Regions from separate parts of the Homo sapiens genome. Here regions 1, 3 and 4 are each linked to region 2. The links are contacts of gene promoters, found by promoter capture Hi-C in blood cells and fetal thymus (Javierre and others, 2016). All regions are on one chromosome and are shown on one strand. The core of a region is centred on a gene start or on the middle of the fragment in contact, and the rest is flanking DNA. Distances in the headings are between cores, read along the strand shown.

The links. The method cuts DNA at HindIII sites, captures the fragments that hold promoters and counts their contacts. A CHiCAGO score of 5 or more calls a contact.
Region 1: a fragment that was not itself captured here is called in contact with the fragment with the promoter of EMC4 in region 2 in 2 of 17 cell types (neutrophils and monocytes); the score reaches 8.3 in neutrophils.
Region 3: a contact is called between a fragment that was not itself captured here and the fragment with the promoter of EMC4 in region 2, in 1 of 17 cell types (M2 macrophages). The highest score is 5.4, in M2 macrophages.
Region 4: a fragment that was not itself captured here is called in contact with the fragment with the promoter of EMC4 in region 2 in 2 of 17 cell types (neutrophils and M0 macrophages); the score reaches 7.4 in neutrophils.

Annotation. Positions count from the first base shown.
Region 1 is chr15:34,916,246-34,921,513 of GRCh38, forward strand. It overlaps AQR (aquarius intron-binding spliceosomal factor), which reads right to left. Exons shown (of 35, transcript NM_014691.3): 14 at 4,087-4,189; 15 at 2,013-2,133. Among named protein-coding and RNA genes, the nearest start is that of AQR, 51 kb to the right of the region's middle. The HindIII fragment of the contact is 9,536 bases long and covers 1-5,268 here.
Region 2 is chr15:34,220,865-34,226,515 of GRCh38, forward strand. It overlaps EMC4 (ER membrane protein complex subunit 4), which reads left to right and starts at 4,152. Exons shown (of 5, transcript NM_016454.4): 1 at 4,152-4,336; 2 at 4,672-4,786. The coding sequence starts at 4,251. RefSeq lists an enhancer at 4,466-4,515. The HindIII fragment of the contact is 12,421 bases long and covers 3,648-5,651 here.
Region 3 is chr15:34,856,805-34,862,460 of GRCh38, forward strand. It overlaps AQR (aquarius intron-binding spliceosomal factor), which reads right to left. Exons shown (of 35, transcript NM_014691.3): 34 at 3,238-3,351; 35 at 1-302. Among named protein-coding and RNA genes, the nearest start is that of ACTC1, 64 kb to the left of the region's middle. The HindIII fragment of the contact is 7,297 bases long and covers 1-5,400 here.
Region 4 is chr15:34,942,883-34,948,779 of GRCh38, forward strand. It overlaps AQR (aquarius intron-binding spliceosomal factor), which reads right to left. Exons shown (of 35, transcript NM_014691.3): 5 at 5,382-5,502; 6 at 1,406-1,546. It also overlaps the pseudogene RPL36AP8. Among named protein-coding and RNA genes, the nearest start is that of AQR, 24 kb to the right of the region's middle. The HindIII fragment of the contact is 1,420 bases long and covers 1,595-3,014 here.

The DNA of each region.
Region 1 (5,268 bases), core at 1,932-4,431, 690 kb after region 2:
TTGCCTTCTGGCTAAACTTTAAGGACCAGACATTGTTTGTATGTTATTCCAGACTCCCCCTTTTCATTATTCTCACTTAACACTATTTCTCTTAGACAATAAGTGACCACTGAGCTGCAATATCAAAAAGGTTTTAAAAAATCCCAGAACACATTTTACTGATAAGTCATAGTCTCATCATTGTTGTCCATACTACCAAAAAAAAAAATAAACTTAAATACAACAAACATTGATGTACAAAAATTTAACATTATTTATATTAGTAAACTCTGACTTGTAATCTAACTCAATTTCTTTCAATAGCACATTTTTATTTAAAAAAATGACAACTAAAATGTCACCACTTTGCAACACTCACTGAATTAACAAATCTAGGTGTTAAATATCTATAGCTACTAATAGCACAAAAAAAGAGACAAGTAGATAGTATGTGCCTCCTGATGAAAGAACACACCACCACCAAGAATCTTGCCAAGGATAACCTTAGCCTGATCAAGCCTCTGCACAAGGTGGTACTAATTTGCAAGAAAAATAAAGAACAGAGGAACATGCTGCAATATACCATGAGTATTCAATCAGAAAAATCTATAGACTACGGGAACTCTATGATCAAACAACTCAAGTTCTTCAGCAGAACAAAAAAAAAAAAAAAAAAAGAAAGAAAGAAAAAAAGGGATGTATAGAAGGTACCAGTAAAGTAAAAGACATTTTTTTAATGAAACCTTGTAACCACCTTGTCAGCTATCCCAGAATACTCCTATGTGCCCTTTCCTGGTTACAGCTTCTTCCCTTTACCCGAAAGTAACTATTTTCTGACTTTTATAGCAATCGCTATCTTGAATTTCTTTATAGTTTTATCATCCAGGTGTGCATCCCTAGACATGAGAAAGCAACATATTAACCACTGTAAGAACATAAAAAGATATGAAGACTGCCTATGTTCTGAAATCTAGCACAATATTAGTGCACTGGGTCTATCGGAGTTATGGCTCTAGGATATGTCTTAGATTAACCATTTTAAGTAAATATACCAATACTTATACTTGTGATGTCTTTAAAACAGTCACATTTCTTCTACTAATGATGCCATTGTTCAAAAAAGTCCTGAAATTTCTTTTGAAATATACCTTCAAAGTATATCTGAATGCACTTTTGCATATACTCAGTTGTGGCAAATTCTCATCCTCAGAGGATGCGTGAAAAGTGTTTAGATCCAAATCTGGGGAAATAAGTGAACAAACTAGGCAATACCATTTTGGATCAACACTAAGGGTTTACTATCAATAAATGATAATGTCTTTTTTTTGGTGATCATTACCTGCTTTACATAGAATTCAAAAGAGCCCCTAAGAAAAGCCTTTGAAAAACAAAAGCTCTATCAAACACAGCCTATCATAGTGACAAAATGAAAGCTATACTTCATGCATTATAAGGTCTCCTTGAAAACAGTCTTATGGTCAGCTGCAGTGGTTCACACCTATAATCCCAGCACTTTGGGAGGCTGAGGTGGGCAGATCGCTTGAGCTCAGGAGTTCGAGATCAGCCTGAGCAACATGGCGAGACCTTGTCTCTACTAAAAAAAAAAAAAAAAAGCTGGGTGTGGTGGTGCACGCCTGTGGTCCCAGGTACTCGGGAGGCTGAAGTGGGAGGATCACTTGAGCCCAGAGACTGAGGCTGCAGTGAGCTGAGACTGCACCACTGCGCTCCAGCCTGGGTGACAGAGCAAGACCCTGTCTCACACTAACAAACAAAAAAAACCAAAACAGTCTTAGGGCTTTATGGTCGTATTTTTTACAGGGTGATATGTGTATAGTTAAATTTAATAAAAACCCTTAGTGCTAAAGCATTCAAAATACTAAATCTTTTCTAGCTTCTAAAGTTAACTTCTGGGCACCAGGAAATTATCCTAATGTACAGAGTAGACTCAAGTACACTGCCTATAATTGCCAATTATATATGATAAATCTGAAATTGTTTCATTGTACAGCTGAATCCATACTTCTTTACCATACCTTCTCCAGAATAGTACTCAGTTGGGACAATATTTTCATCCCATATAATTTTCTCAGTTGGATACAAAGGCATCTGGTTCAACTGCTGAATCTGAGAAATTCGACGTTCATGACGAGATACCTAAAATAAAGGAAACAAGTTCATGCAGAAGGTTAGAAGCATCTTTTTTCAATCAAAATAATTTATGGAAGAAGTTTCATGCCTATCAGTTATTGTAGCAGTTCAACAAGCGATTTTTTTTTCTTTTCCTATTTTCTCCATAGATCAAAGATGAGAAACAAACCAATGGTAATGGTCTTTGGAATCAGACAGACCTGAGTTCAAATCCCAGCTCCTCTACTTATGAGTACTGTAAAAGCTGGGCACGTTACTTTAACCTTCCTAACCTTAGTTTCCTTTTCACTAAAACAGATAAAGTGCCACACATCTCAAGTTTCCAATGAAATATGAAATAGTGTCAAAGTCCCTGGCACATGCCAAGGGTTTAAAAACCATGACACTTAGCATTAATCAATGTAGGAAAAAATAGGAGCTCTAGGTTTTGGACTATAGTTTTCATTCTTATACTAACTAGCTATACCATCTGGGAAAGTTTATTAATCTATCACCCTAGTCTTCTCACTCTATGTTCCTTTCCATGATGACCTCTGTGTACCCTTAATATTAATAATCTATCTCAAATATGAAAATAAGTGTTACACCGGGTGCAGTGGCTCATGCCTTTAATCCCAGCACTTTGGGAGGCTGAAGCAGGTGGATCACCTGAGGTGAGGAGTTCAAGACTAGCCTGACCAACATGGTGAAACCCCATCTCTACTAAAAATACAAAAATTAGCTGGGCGTGGTGGTGCACACCTGTAATCCCAGCTACTCAGGAGGCTGAGGCAAGAGAATTGCTTGAACCCGGGAGGCGGAAGTTGCAGTGAACCGAGATTGCACCATTGCACTCCAGCCTGGGGGACAGAGTGAGACTCCATCTCAAAAAAAAAAAAAAAAGAAAGAAAAAGAAAAATAAGTGTTTATCTAATAATGCTAAAATGACATATTCTTAAAATGTATCACATTCTCTTCAGTGAAGATAGTATAATTATAGAAAAAATCATGATATCTAAACAATATGTATGTTTTAACTTTTTGATCATAAATTGAATAGTAGAAGAATCCAAAGCCTGGGGAAATCCTTTAGGGAAGGGAGGAAACAAAACATAATGTTGTAGCACTATACATTTTAAAAATTATTTTCTTTTGTTGGAACTATTTAAATTTTAGGAATAAAATTCTAGCCACAAGACCTTAATAGGCACAGGATCAACGTTATCCTCAAACTTATTTTCCATTAGAAGAATTCCTGAAAACAGGTTGGGCACGGTGATTCATGCCTGTAACCCAACACTTTGGGAGGCTGAGGTGGGTCAATCACTTGAGGCCAGGAGTTCAAGACCAGCCTGGCCAACGTGGCGAAACTCTATCTTCTACTCAAAATACAAAAATTAGCTGGGAGTGGTGGCACACATCTGTAATACCAGCTACTCGGGAAGATGAGGCACGAGAATCACTTGAACCTGGGAGGCAGAGGTTGCAGTGAGCTGAGATCACGCCACTGCACTCCAGCCTGGGCGACAGAGAGAGACTCGGTATCAAAAAAACAAAACAAACAAACAAACAAAAAAACAAAAAAAGAAGAAGAATTCCTGAAAAAAATCCTCATTTCTTTCTATTGCAAAGAGTTATTATTAATTCCAAAAACCTTACTCATGAGAGGTTTTACATTGTCAGAAAATAGCACAGGAATTTTTAGGAACTGAAAGAGACAATGAAAGTGATTTGCATATAAATAGTTGCTAATAGAATGATTCATCCAGAAAGTAGTTCGAAGAGATAAAATACTTGAGTAAAGAAATTCGAAAGATGAGAAAACAAAAAATCAAATGATAATACAATTCCAAAAACAAAATGGGAATTATCTGCCTAATCTTTGGCCCACAAAAAAATCTATATGAACCTACATCTTTAAGAATGACTTTAAAAGGCAAGGAAAACCACATGCAAAATTCAGAGAACATTAATATTTACCAGCAATTCTAGAAGAAATTCTTTATCAAAAGTTGTGTCTTCATTTTTAGGAAGAGTTGGCAACAAGCAGAGGTATGATGCCACCTGGTGGAGTGTGTTTGAACTGCAGAATAGAGAACAATATTTTATTCATAGTAACTTACTTCACTTCACTTTTGAAACATGTATTTTTACAAATAGCTTAAAAAAGCAAATATAATACTATGACATGGGCAGCAAATATCAAAAACCAGCAATGAAAATTAAGGCTTTAGTGCAGGGTTCTCAAAATATTTTCTGCAAACCTCTCATTGTACCCAAGATCCTTCTGGGCAGTCCCCAAGAACACTTTTAAATATTAATACCGGCAGGGCAAGGTGGCTCAGGCCTGTAATCTCAGCACTTTGGGAGGCCGAGGCAGGCAGATCCCGGGGTCAGGAGATCGAGACTATGCTGGCTAACATGGTGAAATTCCGTCTCTACTAAAAATACAAAAAATTAGCCGGGCGTGGTGGCGGGCGCCTGTAGTCCCAGCTACTCGGGAGGCTGAGGCAGGAAAATGGCGTGAACCCGGGAGGCGGAGCTTGCAGTGAGCCGAGATCGCGCCACTGTACTCCAGCCTGGGCGACAAAGCGAGACTCCGTCTCAAAAATAATAACAATAATAATAACAATACTAAGACATTGTTTCACAGTTTTATTTAAGAATGTCCTTGATGAAGCAGTAAAAAAAAATTAATACTATTAAATTTGGACTCGAGTACCTGTTTTATTTTAAATTCTGTGACAAAATGGGAAGTACATATTTTGCACACAACTTTTACTTTAAAAAACAACAAACTGTTGGACCGGGTGCAGTGTCTCACACCTGTAATCCCAGTACTTTGAGGCCGAGGTGGGCGGATCACAAGGTCAGGAGTTTGAGATCAGCCTGGACAATATGGTGAAACCCCGTCTCTACTAAAAATACGAAAATTAGCCAGGCGTGGTGGTGAGCGCCTGTAGTCCCAGCTACTCAGGAGGCTGAGGCAGGAGAATCGCTTAAACCCAGGAGGCAGAGGTTGCAGTGAGCCGAGATTGCACCACTGCACTCCAGCCTGGGCAAAAGAGCGAGACTCCATCTCAAAAAAAAAAAAAAAAAAAATGACAAACTGTTTATACCAGCCTTGGACAAATGGCCAATTTTTTTTCAAATTTCAAATTT
Region 2 (5,651 bases), core at 2,902-5,401:
ATAATATGTAGAATTTCTCAAATTTATCTAATCTTGGAACCATCCTCAGCCTAGTCCTGATGTGTTCATTTTTTGGAACGGAGTTTCACAAATAATACTATGAGGATTCCTAGGATAAAGAAATAAATGATCCAGAGTACTCCCACTGAGGCCAAAGCAACTTTTTATTTTTTGTTTATTTATTTTTTTTGCGACAGAGCCTTGCTCTGTCCCCCAGGCTGGAGTACAGTGGCACAATCTTGGCTCACTGCAACCTCCACCTCCTGTGTTCAAGAAATTCTCTGCCTCAGCCTCCTGAGTAGCTGGGATTATAGATGACTGCCATCACGCCCAGCTAATTTTTTGTACTTTTAGTAGGGACGGGGTTTCACCATCTTGGCCAGGCTGGTCTTGAACTCCTGACCTCGTGATCCACCTGCCTTGGCCTCCCAAAGTGCTGGGATTACAGGCGTGAGCCACAGCACCCAGCCCAAAGCAACTTTAATTTAGGTTATAGTTTACACATTTTTATAGCAAGTAGGGGAGTATTTAAGTAGAAAGAATATATGATTCCAATGACTAACTTAATGTTTTCAAAAGTGTTCATTTAAAACTTATTAAAGCAGGGCCAGGTGTGGGCTCATGCCTGTAATCCCAGCACTTTGGGAGGCCAAGGCGGGAGGACTGCTTAAGCTCAGGAGTTTGAGACAAGCCTGGGCAACACAGTGAGACCCTGTCTCAAAAAAATAGTAAGTAAAAAAAAATTATTAAAATGTGGCTAGGAGCAGTGGCTCACGTCTGTAATCCCAGCACTTTGGGAGGCTGAGGCAGGCAGATCACGAGGTCAGGAGTTCGAGATCAGCCTGGCCAATGTGGTGACACCCTGTCTCCACTGAAAATACAAAAATTAGCCAGGCGTAGTGGCACACATCTGTAGTCTCAGCTACTTGGGAGGCTGAGGCAGAAGAATTGCTTGAACCTGGGAGGCGGAGGTTGCAGTGAGCCGAGATTGCGCCATTGCACTCCAGCCTGGCAACAGAGCAAGACTCCATCTCAAAAAAAAAAAAAAAAAAAAAAGTATTAAAATGTAATAAGAAGGCCAGGTGTAGTGGCTTATGCCTGTAATCATCACTTTGCGTGGGCGAGGTGGGTGGATCACCTGAGGTCAGGAGTTTGAGACTAGCCTGGCCAACACAGTGAAACCCCATTTCTACTAAAAATACAAAAATGAACAGGGCGTGGTGGCGGGCACCTGTAATCCCAGCTACTCAGGAGGCTGAGACAGGAAAATTGCTTGAACCTGGGAGGCAGAGGATGCAGTGAGCCAAGATCGTGCCACTGCACTTCAGCCTCGGTGACAGAGTGAGACTCTGTCTCAAAAAAAAAAAAGAAAAGTGTAATAAGATTATCTTGAAAATTAGACAAAATTGCGTGAAAATTATTGCCCCAATAGAATGTATATCCATTTTTATGTTTTATTTTGCACAAGTGTAGTTATAGTACATTCACATCTTGGTGTTTGTTTACTTTCAATTTAATTTACTCACATTCGCTAAACATTTATTCAGTACTTTCTATGTTCTAGGCAACAGGCTCAAAGATAATATATAGCTTCTGACCTGGGGGGATTTAGGGTTGCCTATAGAGGGGTAGAAATAAGTGCTCAGGGGACTTTAACAAACAAAATGCAATGTGGTAAGTGCTATTATGCAGCATATAATGCAACAAAGAAGAATGCCCAATAGGGTCAGAAGCTTGAGATAAATATAAGGTTCATGAGACAGAACGTGGTAAAGACAAAAAGTAGAAAGGAGCAGAAACACAATCTATAGTTAGGTCTTCCTACAATCAGATAGATACACATTTTAGGATGGATTGGAGAGGCAAAAGACTTCCATTTCTGCCTTGTTTAAGTAGTCTGCTATGAACACATATTTTTAAAATCAGAAAATAAAGTGGAGGTGGCAATCTTCAGCCTCTCTTACATCATCATCATCTTCAAGAGTCCCAACTTTTTTGTTGGCCAAGGAAGCCTTTTTCAACCTTACCTCCCACAGCATCTCCTTCCCCCTAACTCCAGCCATATCGAATAACTTGGAGTCAAAGAAATACAAATTAAAAAATAATACAGTACCATTTCAAACTATTAAAAAAATTATAGACTGTGAAATGTAAATGGTGCCATTTTTCCTAGTGGACATTTTAATTTTTTTTGTTGTTGTTTGCAGAGGCAAGGTCTCACTATGTTGCCTAGGCTGGTCTTGAACTTCTGAGCTAAAGCAATCCTCCTGCCTCAGCCTCCCAAAGTTCTGGGATGACAGGTGTGAGCCACCACGCCTGGCTCCTGTGGGCATTTAAAATGAAAATTCTTTAAAAATGTGCATACTCTTTGATCCAGCAACTCCAATTTCACTTCTAGGACTATAACTTTAGGAAATAAGAAAAGACATACAGATATGTTCACAGCAACACTGGTTATAAAAGGAAGGAAAACAGGAAACAATTTAAATGTCCAATAATAGGCTATATTATGAAAAAGGTATACCATACAAAACCCAATCACTTTAAAGAATGACATACATTATTTAATGACACGTCATTAAAAACACATCAATGGTGTTATTTGGTAATGATGTGATACATCATTAAAAACACCACATAACCTAGCACTTTGGGAGGCCGAGGCAGGCAGATCACCTGAGGTCGGGAGTTCGAAACCAGCCTGACCAACACGGTGAAATCCCATCTCTACTAAAAATACAAAATTAGCTGGACGTGGTGGCGTGCGCCTGTAATCCCTGGTACTCGGGAGGCTGAGGCAGGAGAATTGCTTGAACCCGGGAGACGGAGGTTGCAGTGAGCCGAGATAGTGCCATTGCACTCCAGCCTGGGCAACAAAAGCAAAACTCCGTCTCGAACAAAAACACAAACAAACCAAACACCAGATATGTGGTGGGCACTAATCTCACAAGCCTTGAAAGTAGGTAGATTATCCAACTTTTACATGAAGAGGCTGAAACAAATTCAACTTGCCCAAGGTCATACAATTATTAAGTGGTGAAACCAGGATTCAAAAGGAGGCCATCTGCTGGGTGCAGTGGCCCATGCCTTTGTAATCTCAACATTTTGGGAGGCCAAGGCAGGAGAATCACTTGAACCCAAGAGTTTGAGAGCAGCCTGAGCAACATAGCGAAACCCTGTCAAAACAAAACAAAACAAAACAAAACAAGACTGGGGCGTGGTGGCGCGCCCTGTGGTCCTAGCTCCTCGGAACGCTCAGGTTGGAAGGAACGCTCAGGTGGGAAGATCGCTTGAGCCGGGGAAGTCGAGGCTGCAGTGAGCCGTGATAGCGCCACTGCACTACAGCCTCGGCAACGGAGTGAAACCCTGTCTCAAAAAACAAACCCAAAACAAACAACAACAAACGCAGGCTAACTGAATACCGAGCCCATGTCCCCTTCCATGCCCACAATGCTGCCTTGCCTTTGTGCAGAATGTGGTTAGAACTGTTTACCTCGCAAGGTTACTGTGCAAGTGAAATGAAATAAACACATGACACAGTGGACATTCAATACTCAGAAACTACTAAGTAACTCGCTCAAGGTCAAGCTAGGATTTAAACCCAGGATTTGAATCTTTTGTTCCAGGGAGCGCGTAGGAGGTTAAGAAGCTTTTCTTGGCTTCCTTTTTTTTTTTTTTGAGACAGAGTTTCGCTCTTGCTGCCCAGGCTGGCGTGCAATCGCTCGGTCTCAGTTCACTGCAACCTCCGGCTCCCGGATCCAAGCGATTCTCCTGCCTCAGCCTCCTAAGTAGCTGGGATTACAGGCGCCCGCCACTAAGCCCGGCTAATATTTTGTATTTTTAGTAGAGACGGGGTTTCACCATGTTAGCCAGGCTGGTCTCGAACTCCTGACTTCAGGTGATCCGCCCACCAATTCTTAACGCTGAGTCAGTATGGGCTTTCCTTCAGCCCCATAAAGTGCACCTCAGAGGTCAGGGAACACATAACAAGGACATTCAAAAGGGGAGCGCGCGGAAGTGGCTTTAGGAAGCACTAAGTCTTGCCTGGTTTTTTTTCCTCCCTGCTTTTCTAAATCCAAACCCGGACTCCTCAACCCACAGCACCACCAATTTCCAGGGCGGAAATGACGTCGTATTCACGCGCCGGAAGTGCATTTGCAGAGTGAGACAAAGCGGAGAACGCTGGTGGGCCTGTTGTGGAGTACGCTTTGGACTGAGAAGCATCGAGGCTATAGGACGCAGCTGTTGCCATGACGGCCCAGGGGGGCCTGGTGGCTAACCGAGGCCGGCGCTTCAAGTGGGCCATTGAGCTAAGCGGGCCTGGAGGAGGCAGCAGGTGAGGCACCTGGGCAAGCTGTACATCACTGTTCATCCCAGAACTGCACCAGAGTAATGAGACCTGAGCCCTCAGGCATAACTCTGAAAAAGATGGGTGGCACACAGACATCACCTGGGGAGGTAGCGGCTTTTCTGCCGTGGAAGTTTCTCTGCTCAAACAATGCTTACATCAGTCCTCCTGATAAGTCAAAGGACTGAGGAACATACGAGGGGGCTTGGTCTAATCTGAGTAGGTGCATCTGAAGATCTTTATTCCTATGATTGGTAGATCAGGAAATGTGGGATAAGAAGTATCGGAGGTTGCAGCTTTAGTTTCTTGGTTTGGTTTTTTAGGGGTCGAAGTGACCGGGGCAGTGGCCAGGGAGACTCGCTCTACCCAGTCGGTTACTTGGACAAGCAAGTGCCTGATACCAGCGTGCAAGAGACAGACCGGATCCTGGTGGAGAAGGTACAGAGGTATAGATGTTACCGTAGCCCATGGGCCAGTCCTGAGTTACACACTCATCCTCTTCTCCTAGGTGGAGTTAACGTAGATAGCTCTTATCCTGAAGATTTGGAAACTAAACTGCTTGAGGCTGGTATTTCGGTATTTTATATATCAGCTACAAAAGTGCTTAATAATTTGAAAAATAGAAGATGTTTGGAACATAAGGTATAAGAAAGTAGGTTGAAAACTATCTTTTGGTGGCAACATCTTCCAGTTGAAGTGATCCTTTTTCTACTCTGGTTCCCTTACACCACATATCCAACTGTCAGGATACTCTGTTGGCTTTACCTACTACTTTTTCCTGTGTTCACCTCTCATCCTAATCCAAGCCACCATCCTTCATCTAGATTTCTGCAGTAGCCCGGCTAATTTTTGTATTTTTAGTACAGACAGGGTATCACCATGTTTGCCAGGCTGGTCTTGAACTCCTGACCTCAGGTGATCCATCCGCCTTGGCCTTCCAAAGTGCTGGGATTGCAGGCATGAGCCACCGCGCTCGGCCCGGGGCTATTTATATTTCTAATTTCTCCTGTCATTTTGTTACATTTTTTCTAGAAACTTATCCATTTCCTAAAATTTCAAATGTATTGATATAAAGTTGTTCATAATATGATCACTTCCATATATGCAAGATCTGTGATGTTCATTTTTTCATTCCTGATATTGAATATTTTGTCTCCTCTCCTTTCTTCATCAGGCTCACCAGTATTGATTTTTTAAAAATTATTTTCATTTATTTTTACAGGTCACTGTACCCATCACCAGTATTGATTTTATTAATCTTTTCAAAAATACTTGGGTTTTTTTCTAGTTTCTTGAAATGGAT
Region 3 (5,656 bases), core at 502-3,001, 630 kb after region 2:
TCCGGGGCAGATGTGGCATCCTGAGGTGTGTTAGCTTCTGCCGGTGCAGATACAGCTCCTACCACAGTAGGGGTGGTCTCAGATAAAGCAGGGATGGCTTCTGGAGTGGAAGTGGCTCCTGTCTCACTGGGGGTGGTGTCAGTTTGAAAGGCTGGAGTTTCTTGACGGCAGCTGGTGTCTGTTGGACTGGGTATGATGTCAGCTTGAACAGTCATGGCCTCTTCTTCTGTTTCCAATTCTGTTTCTTGATTTTGAACTTCCTCACCCTCTTCTACCATAGCAGGTGGTAGTTGTAATAAAGTCTAATTAAAAAAAAAAAAACAAAGACAATACCAATATGAAAAACAGCTTATAAAGCTAAGCTCTCACATTACCATTCTAGAGTTCTCCAAAACAGTGCTGACCATTTTATACTCCAGATGTAACACCTCTGATGACAATGGTCTAGGTTCTGCTAACACCAAGGAATATGCCTACACAGATGTCATATACTGATAATCAAAATACATATAAAATCTTCAGAGAGGAAAACAACCATGAAAAGCTATTAGATTTTTAAGCAACATACTTTGCTGTCAACATTTCTGCAAAAAACAGTGACTGATCAGGACTGATTATAAAACTAACTCAAGAAAGGGTCAACTTTAATCAAAGAGCCCTGTGAGCTGGGTGCGGTGGCTCATGGTGGCATTCCCGGCACTTTGGGAGGCCAAGGCAGGCGGATCACTTGAGGCCAGGAGTTCGAGACTAGCCTGGCCAACATGGTGAAACCCCATCTCTACTAAAAAACACAAAAATTAGCTGAGCGTGGTGGCAGGAGCCTGTAATCCCATCTACTCAGGATGCTGAGGCAGGAGAATCACTTGACCCTGTGAGTTGGAGGTTGCAGTGAGTTGAGATTGTGTCACTGCACTCCAGCCTGGGTGACAGAGAGAGATTCTGTCTCAAGAAAAAGAAAAAGAAAAGAAAAAGAGCCCTGTGAGAGGCAGAGAGGAGCCTGGCCTTAAGGCAAAGCCATGGGAGAAGGGAGCAGCAAGGAACAAGGTTTCTGTTCCGTTCAACCAGAAAACTGGAGCAACTCTATATGCTTAGCTTGCCCTTTGCCCCATGGCAGTCTAGTGACTTTCTCATCAGGGACTCTGCTTACAATGCTGGAAATTGAATGAATGAATTGATTGATCGATTGATTGATTGACTGAGACAGAGTCCCACTCTGTCGCCCAAGCTGGAGTGCAGTGGTGCCATCTTGGCTCACTGCAACCTCCGTCTCCCAGGTTCAAGCGATTCTCCTGCCTCAGCCTCCCAAGTAGCTGGGATTACAGACATGTACCACCATGCCTGGCTAATTTTTGTATTTTTAGTAGAGACGGGGTTTCACCATGTTGGCCAGGCTGGTCTCGAACTCCTGACCGCAGGTGATCCACCTACCTCAGCCTCCCAAAGTGCTAGGATTACAGGCATAAGCCACCGCGCCTGGCCTTTAAGATTTTTAAAAAGTACCGTGCACGACAGCAGCAAAAAAAAAAAAAAAAAAAAAGAAAACGAAAAAGAAAAATACTTAGCAAAATGTTAACAAAATATGTGTAAGGTTTGTATGTTGAAAACTACAAAATCCTGATGAGAATTTAAAGAAGATCTAAATAAACGAGAGATCTTATTCATGGATAGGAAGACTTAATATGTGAAGATGTTAATCTCCCCAAATAGATCCTAAACAATCCTCCTCTTCAAAATATCCTTTTAAAAACTGCAGCATGCTTTTGGGGGTAGAAACTGACCTGCTGATTGTAAAATGTATACAGAAAAGCAAAGGAACTGGGATAGCTAAGACAATTTCTAAAATGAAGAACAAAGCTAAAGGACTTATGTTATCTAATTTCCAGACTGACTGTAAAGCTACTATAATCAAGGTAGTACAGTCATGGCAAAGGGACGGATATACAGAATAATGGAACAGAATAGAAAGCCCAGACTCTCACATATATAGTCAATTGATATTTTGACTAAGATGACAAGCAAGTCAACAAAGAAAAAAATCGCCTATTAGGGAAGTGGTGCTCAAACAACTGCATATCCACAGACAAATGAATAAAACTCAGTCCTACCTGTATCATATAAAAATTAACTCAAAATGCATCATACCTAAGTATCCAACCTAAAACTCTGCAACTTCTAGAAAAAACCTTTATACCTCTGAGTTAGGCTATGTATTTTTAGGACATAAAAAGCATGAATCATAAAAGAACACTTTGATACATTGAACTTCATCAAAATTTAAAACTTTTGCTCTTTGAAAGACACTTACAAAATAAATAAACAAGCCAGAATGGGAGAAAATATTTGTAAAATACATATCAGATAAAGGACTTGTAGCCAGAATAAATAAAAACCTCTCAAAACTTAATAAAATATACAGCCTAATAAAAAAATGAGCAGGAAACCTGAGCAGACACATCCCCAAAGATATACAGATGGCAAATGACCACATGAAAAGATGCTCATCATCAGTCCTTAGGGAAATGAAAACCAAAACCATACTGAGACCACTGTATATCTATTAGAACTGCCAAAATTTTAAAAAGACGTACCATATCAAGTGAGGGTGAGGATGTGTAGCAACTAGAACTCTCACACTGCTGCTGAGAGTGTAAAGTGGTTCAACCACTTTGAAAAACAGGTTGGTAGCTTCTTAAAAAGTTAAACACATCCTTAACATAAATTCAGCCATTCCACTCTTAGGTATCTACCCAAGATAAAGTACAAAGACTTGTATAAGCAATAGTAGCCAGAAAAAATAAGAATACATACTGTATGCTTCCATTTATATAAAAATCTAGAAAATAGAAGCAAACCTATCATGACAGAAAGCAGATCCTTGGCTGCCTGGGAAGGTAAAAAGGGGACTGGTGAAGGGCAAGGAGGGATTACAAATGGGCACAAGGGAAAACTCTTGGGATAATGGATATGCTCTTTATCTTGACTGTGCTGATGGCTTCACAGGTAAATACCTATGCCAGAACATATAAAATTTTACACTTTAAGTTTGTGGACTTTATTGTATGTGGAATTCTAACTATATAAAGAAGTTTTAAAAATACGAATGTTACATAAATAATAATAGCCTGCTTTAGTTTAGCTGATTTCCCACAAGGAATTAGGTACTTTAAAGATTTATTCTGAAAAAAAGAAAATTATTTCTACAGCAAGAAAAATAAAAGTCGATTTTGAGAAACTCACCTGATGATAATGATGTGTAGTCTGTATCAAATGCATGTACATGTTGTATACAAAGTTTGCCATCTGGGGCATATTTTTTATTATTTGTACTTCATGAGATGGTCTCTCTCCATTCTAGAAGAAGGAAAAAAGAACGTTAAGTATCTAGTAAAACAACCCTAGAAGGTAACACTTCAACATAAACCCATTTCTTAATCTTATGAATAAGCACAATTAGGGTCTGGAAGACCTAACAGTAAGAGGACATAAAATGCAAGTGTGAAGAGTCCAATGAAGACTTCATGAATGTTAAAAAAAGACTTAAATAGAATTAATAAAAAGGGGGCCCAGGTCAGCACGCTCTGCCTGCTGGCCACGTGACTCCCATTAAAAAAAAAAAAAGACTTCATGAAGAATAGTGATTCCATTGAAATTTAGAAAGGTTAGAGACTAGAAGAGCTAAGAGTTGCCAGCTTTTAATATAATTTTGGGCTGGTAAGTTAAGTATGGGTTTTAGTTTACTATCTAATATAAAAGAATTAGTACAAGATAAGTAATTATTTGACTAGAGAGAAAAGTCAACACAGTCTGAAACAGCAGTTTCTAAGACTGTGTATGCTCCAAAGACAGTTCTTAAGATAATTCAGAAAGAAAATATTAACACTCTTTGTCCTACTTATATTTTTCTAAAAAGTAAGAGGCTAACATTTACTTTTATTTAACACATATACTATGAGTCAAGAGGGTGAATATTCAAATGCTCTTTTTAAGATTTTGGTGTCTATCAGAATCATCTGGGGTAGACTGTTAAATTGCAGGTACCTAGGCTCCAGCCCTATAGATTCAGATTCAGAAGGTCTGGGTGGAATGAGCTGATTCTTCTGTAGCTTCTGACAACAATCTAAGAAACACTGCTCTATAAGTGTAGGTAAGGTAGTAAAGCAAATCAAGAAAATACAGAATTTGCACTTCTTTTTAAACCACCCTAAAATAGAGATTAACAACTTTCCTATTTATAGTTATTAATAAAATGCTTATAAAGTCTTATCCTTTCTTATGATAGGAACAATTTAGAAAATCATTAAGGTAAAAAACATACCCCAAAAAAGGAGGATTCAATCTCAAAGTGAAAAGTTATTTAAAGAGCATGAAGTTAGAAATAATTTAGTAAATTAAACAACATTTCTCAGAAGTAAGCAGGATGGCAGCATTCCATCTAAGCAGGTATTCTTTTGATTAATGGTCATTTTCTGCAATGGTCAGAACTCGTATGTACAAATACGGCCATGCTATTATGACTAGGAACATGGAAGAGTTTTTGCTTGTTAGCTTATTTTCTGGAGTCTTGCCAAGAGCTGCCTTTCCTTGAGACACAGCACTCTCCGCCCCTCACTATCTCTTGAGGAGAAGATGGGGAGATGTTCTCAGCCCTAACCTCCCCAGGGCCTTGAACTCATGAGTGTTATCTAAAGCATGGGTTTCCAAGCCTTCTGTTCAGTGATATTGTCTGACCTGCACTCCAGATTTCTTCAGGTGTGACATGTAGCCCTTACATAGAAAGCACGTGGGGAGCTTGTTACACATGATGACACCTAGGCTCTGTCCCAGACCTCTTGTCAGGAATGTGCCTGTTTACTAGCCCACAAAAGATCAAGAAACTCGGATATAATAGGATTGTGTCTAGACTTGAGCCTGACACTTGAGGCTTTATGTGACCCTACCACCCCATGATCTCTCTCCACCATTTTCCTATTTCTCCACAGCAGCATTTCTTCAAAAATAAGTAAATAAAAAGGCACTTTTTATAAAGTACTTATTATTATTAAACACACAAGATTTAAGTTTTTTTTTAGTAGGGGTGGAGGGAAGACGTATACTGTGAACATCTAAAATAATGTTATTTAAAATCCAATGGACCCCCCTAGGACAATTCATTAAATGAAAAAGCAAAGCCCAAAAGTCTATAGTATAATAACCTGAAGGAAAATAATATAAAAGTAACATATCTCTTCTCCTTTATACAAAAGGAATATAAGGATAAACGTGAAACTAAAGAAACTGGTTACCTATGGAGGGAAGGTGCTAGGAAAAGGGGAGAAAGAAGGGGAGATAAGAGGGAGTAGTATTTCTCTATCTTTTCTTTAAATATATGTGCTCTCTCCTCCCTCATTTCCCCAGAATGTAAGCTTCTTAAGAACTCAACTATTTATTGCTCTATTTCCAAGTAAGTAGTTAAGTTCTCCTTACAAAGCTGAAGACAAACAGTACAGTATAATGATAAATAACATGAACTCTGGGATGTTATTCGAAAAGACCTCCTGGCTTTTCAGATCTTGGATCCTCTATCTGCTAGATGCATGGCCAAACTACTTAGCTTCTCTGACCCTAAGTTTCTCCATTTGTAAAACGGGGTTAATAAAATAATCTAATAACCTAATAG
Region 4 (5,897 bases), core at 1,055-3,554, 720 kb after region 2:
TTTTAAAAGATAAAGCATTTCAATAATAAACTAGTTTGGTAAGTTGGCTAAAACTATCACCAAATTACTAATACTAATAAAATCTTGTTTCTGTTTAGTTTCTGATAAAAAAATCACATCTATTTATATTTCTATTTGTTCTGTTTAGTTTAATAAATGTTAAAGAGGCTTTCTGTGCCGATAACGCTCACGCAAGCATGGTTAACGTCCCTAAAACCCGCCGGACTTTCTGTAAGAAGTGTGGCAAGCACCAACCCCATAAAGTGACACAGTACAAGAAGGGCAAGGATTCTCTGTATGCCCAGGGAAAGCGGCGTTATGACAGGAAGCAGAGTGGCTATGGTGGGCAAACTAAGCCAATTTTCTGGAAAAAGGCTAAAACTACAAAGATTGTGCTAAGGCTTGAGTGCATTGAGCCCAACTGCAGATCTAAGAGAATGCTGGCTATTAAAAGATGCAAGCATTTTGAACTGGGAGGAGATAAGAAGAGAAAGGGCCAAGTGATTCAGTTCTAAGTGTCATCTTTTATTATGAAGACAATAAAATCTTGAGTTTATGTTCAAAATAAATAAATAAATAAATAAATAAATAAATAAATAAAAATAAATGTTAAAGAGATAACAGTGGTATCCAGTGCAGGCATCATAAATCTTTTTTTATGCCTTTAAAAGATCCATGTGAGATAGTACATGGAAACAGGTAATAATCATCCATCTATTAACACTCAGTCTTCAGAATAAGAAAGAACTCCATGCATTCCTCCTGCATGGGTGTAAGTGAATTATCAATTCAGAGGCACTAAATAAATATGTGTATTTATCAGCTAACCACACAGGAAAGCTCAAATAAAATATTACTGAAAATATTTAATTTTTTAGAAGATAATCTTATGAAGGATGAAAATGTATCACACACAAGACATTTTCAAAGATCATTTACACTTGGCCTTTATCAGTCAACTCAAAATACAACTCTCCTGTTGACTAACCAGCCTATGCATAAGGCATGATGAAAAGCAATGAAACTACATTCCTGTATGTATATGCAGTTTGTGGCACAGATCTCATTACTCCAATTCCATATAACCAGTCTCCTTGCTGCTTCTCATTTTTGTGCTCTCCCTTTAGAGTTTCAGTTCTTATAATCATTTTTCTTAAGAGTCTAGATAGAAAAAATTAAGTATCAATTTCAAATCTATTAAAAAGTGAACATATCTTATAAAAACATATCTTAAAGACTTATAAAATGGTTTTACTGATAAGTGGCTGAAATCAAGCTTTTAGCATTATCCTTATTGCCTGCTATTATGGATGAATGGAGTTGGCTACAGAGGTAATTTCATCTAAACTCAACCTAAAAGAACAAGAAAACTTGAAAATTACCCCAAAATATAAAGTAAAAGTACCAAACTATTGAAGCAATGATCAAGAAAAAGTAGTAAGACTGTCTGTTCATGAAGTGAAAATTCACCATCAGTTTCAGCTAATGCCGCCTTCAAGATGTGTTTAAAAAAGAATGGGAAGTGGTCTGGCTTCTTCTTAAAAATCTGAAAAGAAACAGAATAAAATTCATTTTGTATTGGCTTGCTCACTTAAGCTTTAAAGAAGCCCTAGTAGGCTTTTTAGCAGTCTATTAAAAAAACCAAATAATTACAAAAGGGTTATTTGTATATGTATAAAAGAAGCATCACGTGCTTACTTATAATTAATGGCAAGTCAAATACAGGTTTCTGACAGGACTATGAGAGAGCTGCAGAACCCTTTAGCTAATAAAATAATGGCTTTCATTTCTTTAGTTTTTCCTCTGTGGATTATGCCTGTATTTAGCTTAGGCTTTGTTTTCTTATTAAGGATCTGAAGTGTTTTAATTTCTCTGATTTAAACAAAAGAAACTACATCTTTAGCAAAAATTGTAGTTTTCACACTGTAATTAATCTCAAGAACAGCCCCTCCTGCTTTATATTAGCTCTTTACTCTTAACTTGTAAATAATGTAAATATATTCAAGCCTCTTTGACCTACCTCTGTTTCTAGTTACTGCCACAGACAAATGCTCCAAGCGTGTGGTCTATACTAGTTGTTTTCATTCACTTCTCTAAGACAAGCTCTCCTGAAGCTGTATGGCTGTCAAGTCCTATGGACCCTTATTAACTCTCAACTCCTTTTCACCATATTGAAGGCTCTTCTTCTTTTGCCTGTTATCTAAACCGCAATATTCGTAGGGTTCTAGCCTCATTCTTCTCCCTCTATTACTTCAACCACTAAATACCAATGATTCCAAATATACATCTGCAGTCCAGATTTCTCTTCTGAGCTCTCAAACCTTAGATTCCTCTACTAGATGACTTAATCTAGATATTCCAAAGGCAATTTAAACTGAATATGTCCAAATTCAATTCAACAGTTTTGTATCCTCCAAATTATTCCTCACTCTCTATTACCTATCTTGGTAAATGGCACCATCATATATTATATTCATTTGCCCAAGCCTGGAAGGTTATTGAAAATAACACCCTTTCCTAATGCTACTTCAACTGATTATCAAATTCAATCAATTCTACCTTCTACATCTCTGTATATCCTCTAAATCTGTATTATCATTTCTCTATTTCAAGGCCTAATCACCAAAGTGATCTTTATAACAGGTAAACTGACCAGGTTATTCCCTGGCTCAAAAAATTTTCCTTCTTCCTTTCTGTATTTCTATAATAGCTTGAAGCAACTTGAAGAAACCCCTAGGCTCTCTTGATAGTGACATAAAACCCATAGTTTATTCTGAGCTCTAATGTGCCCTGAGATGGTAGTCATTTAATGAATATTTGAGATAAGTGTCCATGGTTTTATCTTAAAGACTCTATCACCTTTTCACTTTGGTGACCATTTACTCAAAACAGATGACAGGCATCCATTCCTTTTTTTCATTTAAAAAAGTCTGACTGGAAGAGAAGAAACTCTTGATGAAGTGACCATTATATGGCGGGCAAAGAAAACAAAGATTTTGGATCCCTACTGATCAAGCTTCTGTTGCACCAGCACAAAAAGGAAACATCAGTGCATTAGAAATTTCTAAAAGGAAAAATAGATCCCAAATCAAGGACAAAAAGAACAGGCCAGGCACAGTGACTCATGCCTGTAATCCCAGCACTTTGGGAGGCCGAGGCGGGTGGATCATCTAAGGTCAGGAGTTTGAGACCAGCCTGGCCAATATGGTGAAACCCCATCTCTACTAAAAATACAACAATTAGCTGGGCATGGTGGCGGGCACCTGTAATCCCAGCTTCTTGGGAGGCAGAGGCAGGAGAATTGCTGGAACCTGGGAGGCAGATGTTGCAGTGAGCTGAGATCACGCCATTTGCACTCCAGCCTGGATAACAAGAGCTAAATTCAGTCTCAAAACAAAAAACCAAAAGAACATTGAAATTATAATGTAAGCATCTGTCTTGACTTTGGTAACTTTTTTTATTCATGTAAAACTACAAATATAAACTCCCTCTTGAGGTCGGGGGGGTCAGCCCCCCGCCCGGCCAGCCGCCCCGTCCGGGAGGGAGGTGGGGGGGGTCAGCCCCCCGCCCGGCCAGCCGCCCCGTCCAGGAGGGAGGTGGGGGGGTCAGCCCCCCGCCCGGCCAGCCGCCCCGTCCGGGAGGGAGGTGAGGGGGTCAGCCCCCCGCCTGGCCAGCCGCCCCGTCCGGGAGGGAGGTGGGGGGGGTCAGCCCCCAGCCCGGCCAGCCGCCCCATCCGGGAGGTGAGGGGCGCCTCTGCCTGGCCGCCCCTACTGGAAAGTGAGGAGCCCCTCTGCCCGGCCAGCCGCCCGTCCGGGAGGGAGGTGGGGGGGTCAGCCCCCCACCCGGCCAGCCGCCCCGTCCGGGAGGGAGGGAGGTGGGGGGGTCAGCCCCCCGCCCGGCCAGCTGCCCCGTCCGGGAAGTGAGGGGCGTCTCTGCCCGGCCGCCCCTACTGGGAAGTGAGGAGCCCCTCTGCCCAGCCAGCCGCCCCGTCCGGGAGGGAGGTGGGGGGGGTCAGCCCCCCGTCCGGCCAGCCGCCCCATCCGGGAGGTGAGGGGCGCCTCTGCCCGGCCGCGCCTACTGGGAAGTGAGGAGCCCCTCTGCCCGGCCACCACCCCGTCTGGGAGGTGTGCCCAACAGCTCATTGAGAACGGGCCATGATGACAATGGCGGTTTTGTAGAATAGAAAGAGGGGAAAGGTGGGGAAAAGATTGAGAAATCGGATGGTTGCCGTGTCTGTGTAGAAAGAGGTAGACATGGGAGACTTTTCATTTTGTTCTGTACTAAGAAAAATTCTTCTGCCTTGGGATCCTGTTGATCGGTGACCTTACCCCCAACCCTGTGCTCTGTGAAACATGTGCTGTATCCACTCAGGGTTGAATGGATTAAGGGCGGTGCAAGATGTGCTTTGTTAAACAGATGCTTGAAGGCAGCATGCTCGTTAAGAGTCATCACCACTCCCTAATCTCAAGTACCCAGGGACACAAACACTGCGGAAGGCCACAGGGTCCTCTGCCTAGGAAAACCAGAGACCTTTGTTCACTTGTTTATCTGCTGACCTTCCCTCCACTATTGTCCTGTGACCCTGCCAAATCCCCCTCTGCGAGAAACACCCAAGAATGATCAATAAAAAAAATAATAATAATAATAATAATAATAAAATAAATAAAAATAAAAATAAGACAAAAAAAATAAAAATAAACTCCCTCTTGTGAAAAAAGACACTGAAAAATATCTCATTTGAACATTATATACTTGTGCTTTTTTTTCTTCTTCTTAGAGACAGGCCTCGCTCTGTTACCCAGGCTGGAGTGTTGTGGTGCAATCATAGTTCATTGCAGCCTCGAACTCCTGGGCTCAAGTGGTCCTCTTGCATCAATCTCCCAAGTAGCTGGGACTACAGACTCATGCCACCATGCCTGGCTAATTTTTTCTTTTTTTAAAGAAACAAGTTTTTGCTTTGTTGCCCAGGCTGGTCTTGAACTCCTGGCTTCGAGCAATCCTCCCACCTCAGCTTTCCAAGTGCAGGATTATAGGCATGAGTGACAGCACTCAGCCTATTTGTACTTATTAATATAATTTCCATTTTGCCAGCTCCTGATGTAAGTTGTTATAACATATACCATTCTTTGTTTCAAACACAAAGCAGAAAAATAACTCACATTCATAAATTTTCAATTCATAGTAAATTATTAAATCGTTTGAAGAAAGTATTGAAACCAAAAGAAAACATATCTTTCACATACCCATTCTTTTTCTCAATATTTGCTTTATTACTGGGTAAAGTTCTGCTCTAAAAGCACCACTATCAGTAAAAGTTCTGCCACTTTGTAATGGCTTATGTGGGTCAGTATGAAAGCTATGAAGTACTTTAAATCAGTTACCTCCCATGCAGGCACGTTTTCTCTAAACTTCTCATTCACCATACAGCAGATTGACATTAAATAGGCCTTGCTAGATACCTCAGGAGAATAATTCATCCAGAGATAATTTTCAAGATACTGGCTGTAAAGAGTAAAAAGCATAGAATACTTCATTAGTTACCACCACTCACTGTAATACATAACTCACCCAGAAAAGCATAATTATTTACAACTTTCTGAAAATATTTTGGAAATCTCTATTTATAACTTGGAATCCTTGGCTGGGTGTGGTAGCTCATGCCTGTAATCCCAGCACTTTGGGAGGCCGAGACGGGTGGAGGTCAACTCCTGACTTGAGGTCAGGAGTTGTGATATGGTGAAACCCCATCTCTACTAAAAATACAAAAATTAGCTGGGTATGGTGGCACACGCCTGTAATCCCAGCTACTCAGGGGGCTGAGGCAGGAGAATCACTTGAACCCGGGAAGAAGATGCAGTGAGCTGAGATTGCGCCACTACACTCCAGCCTGGCCAACA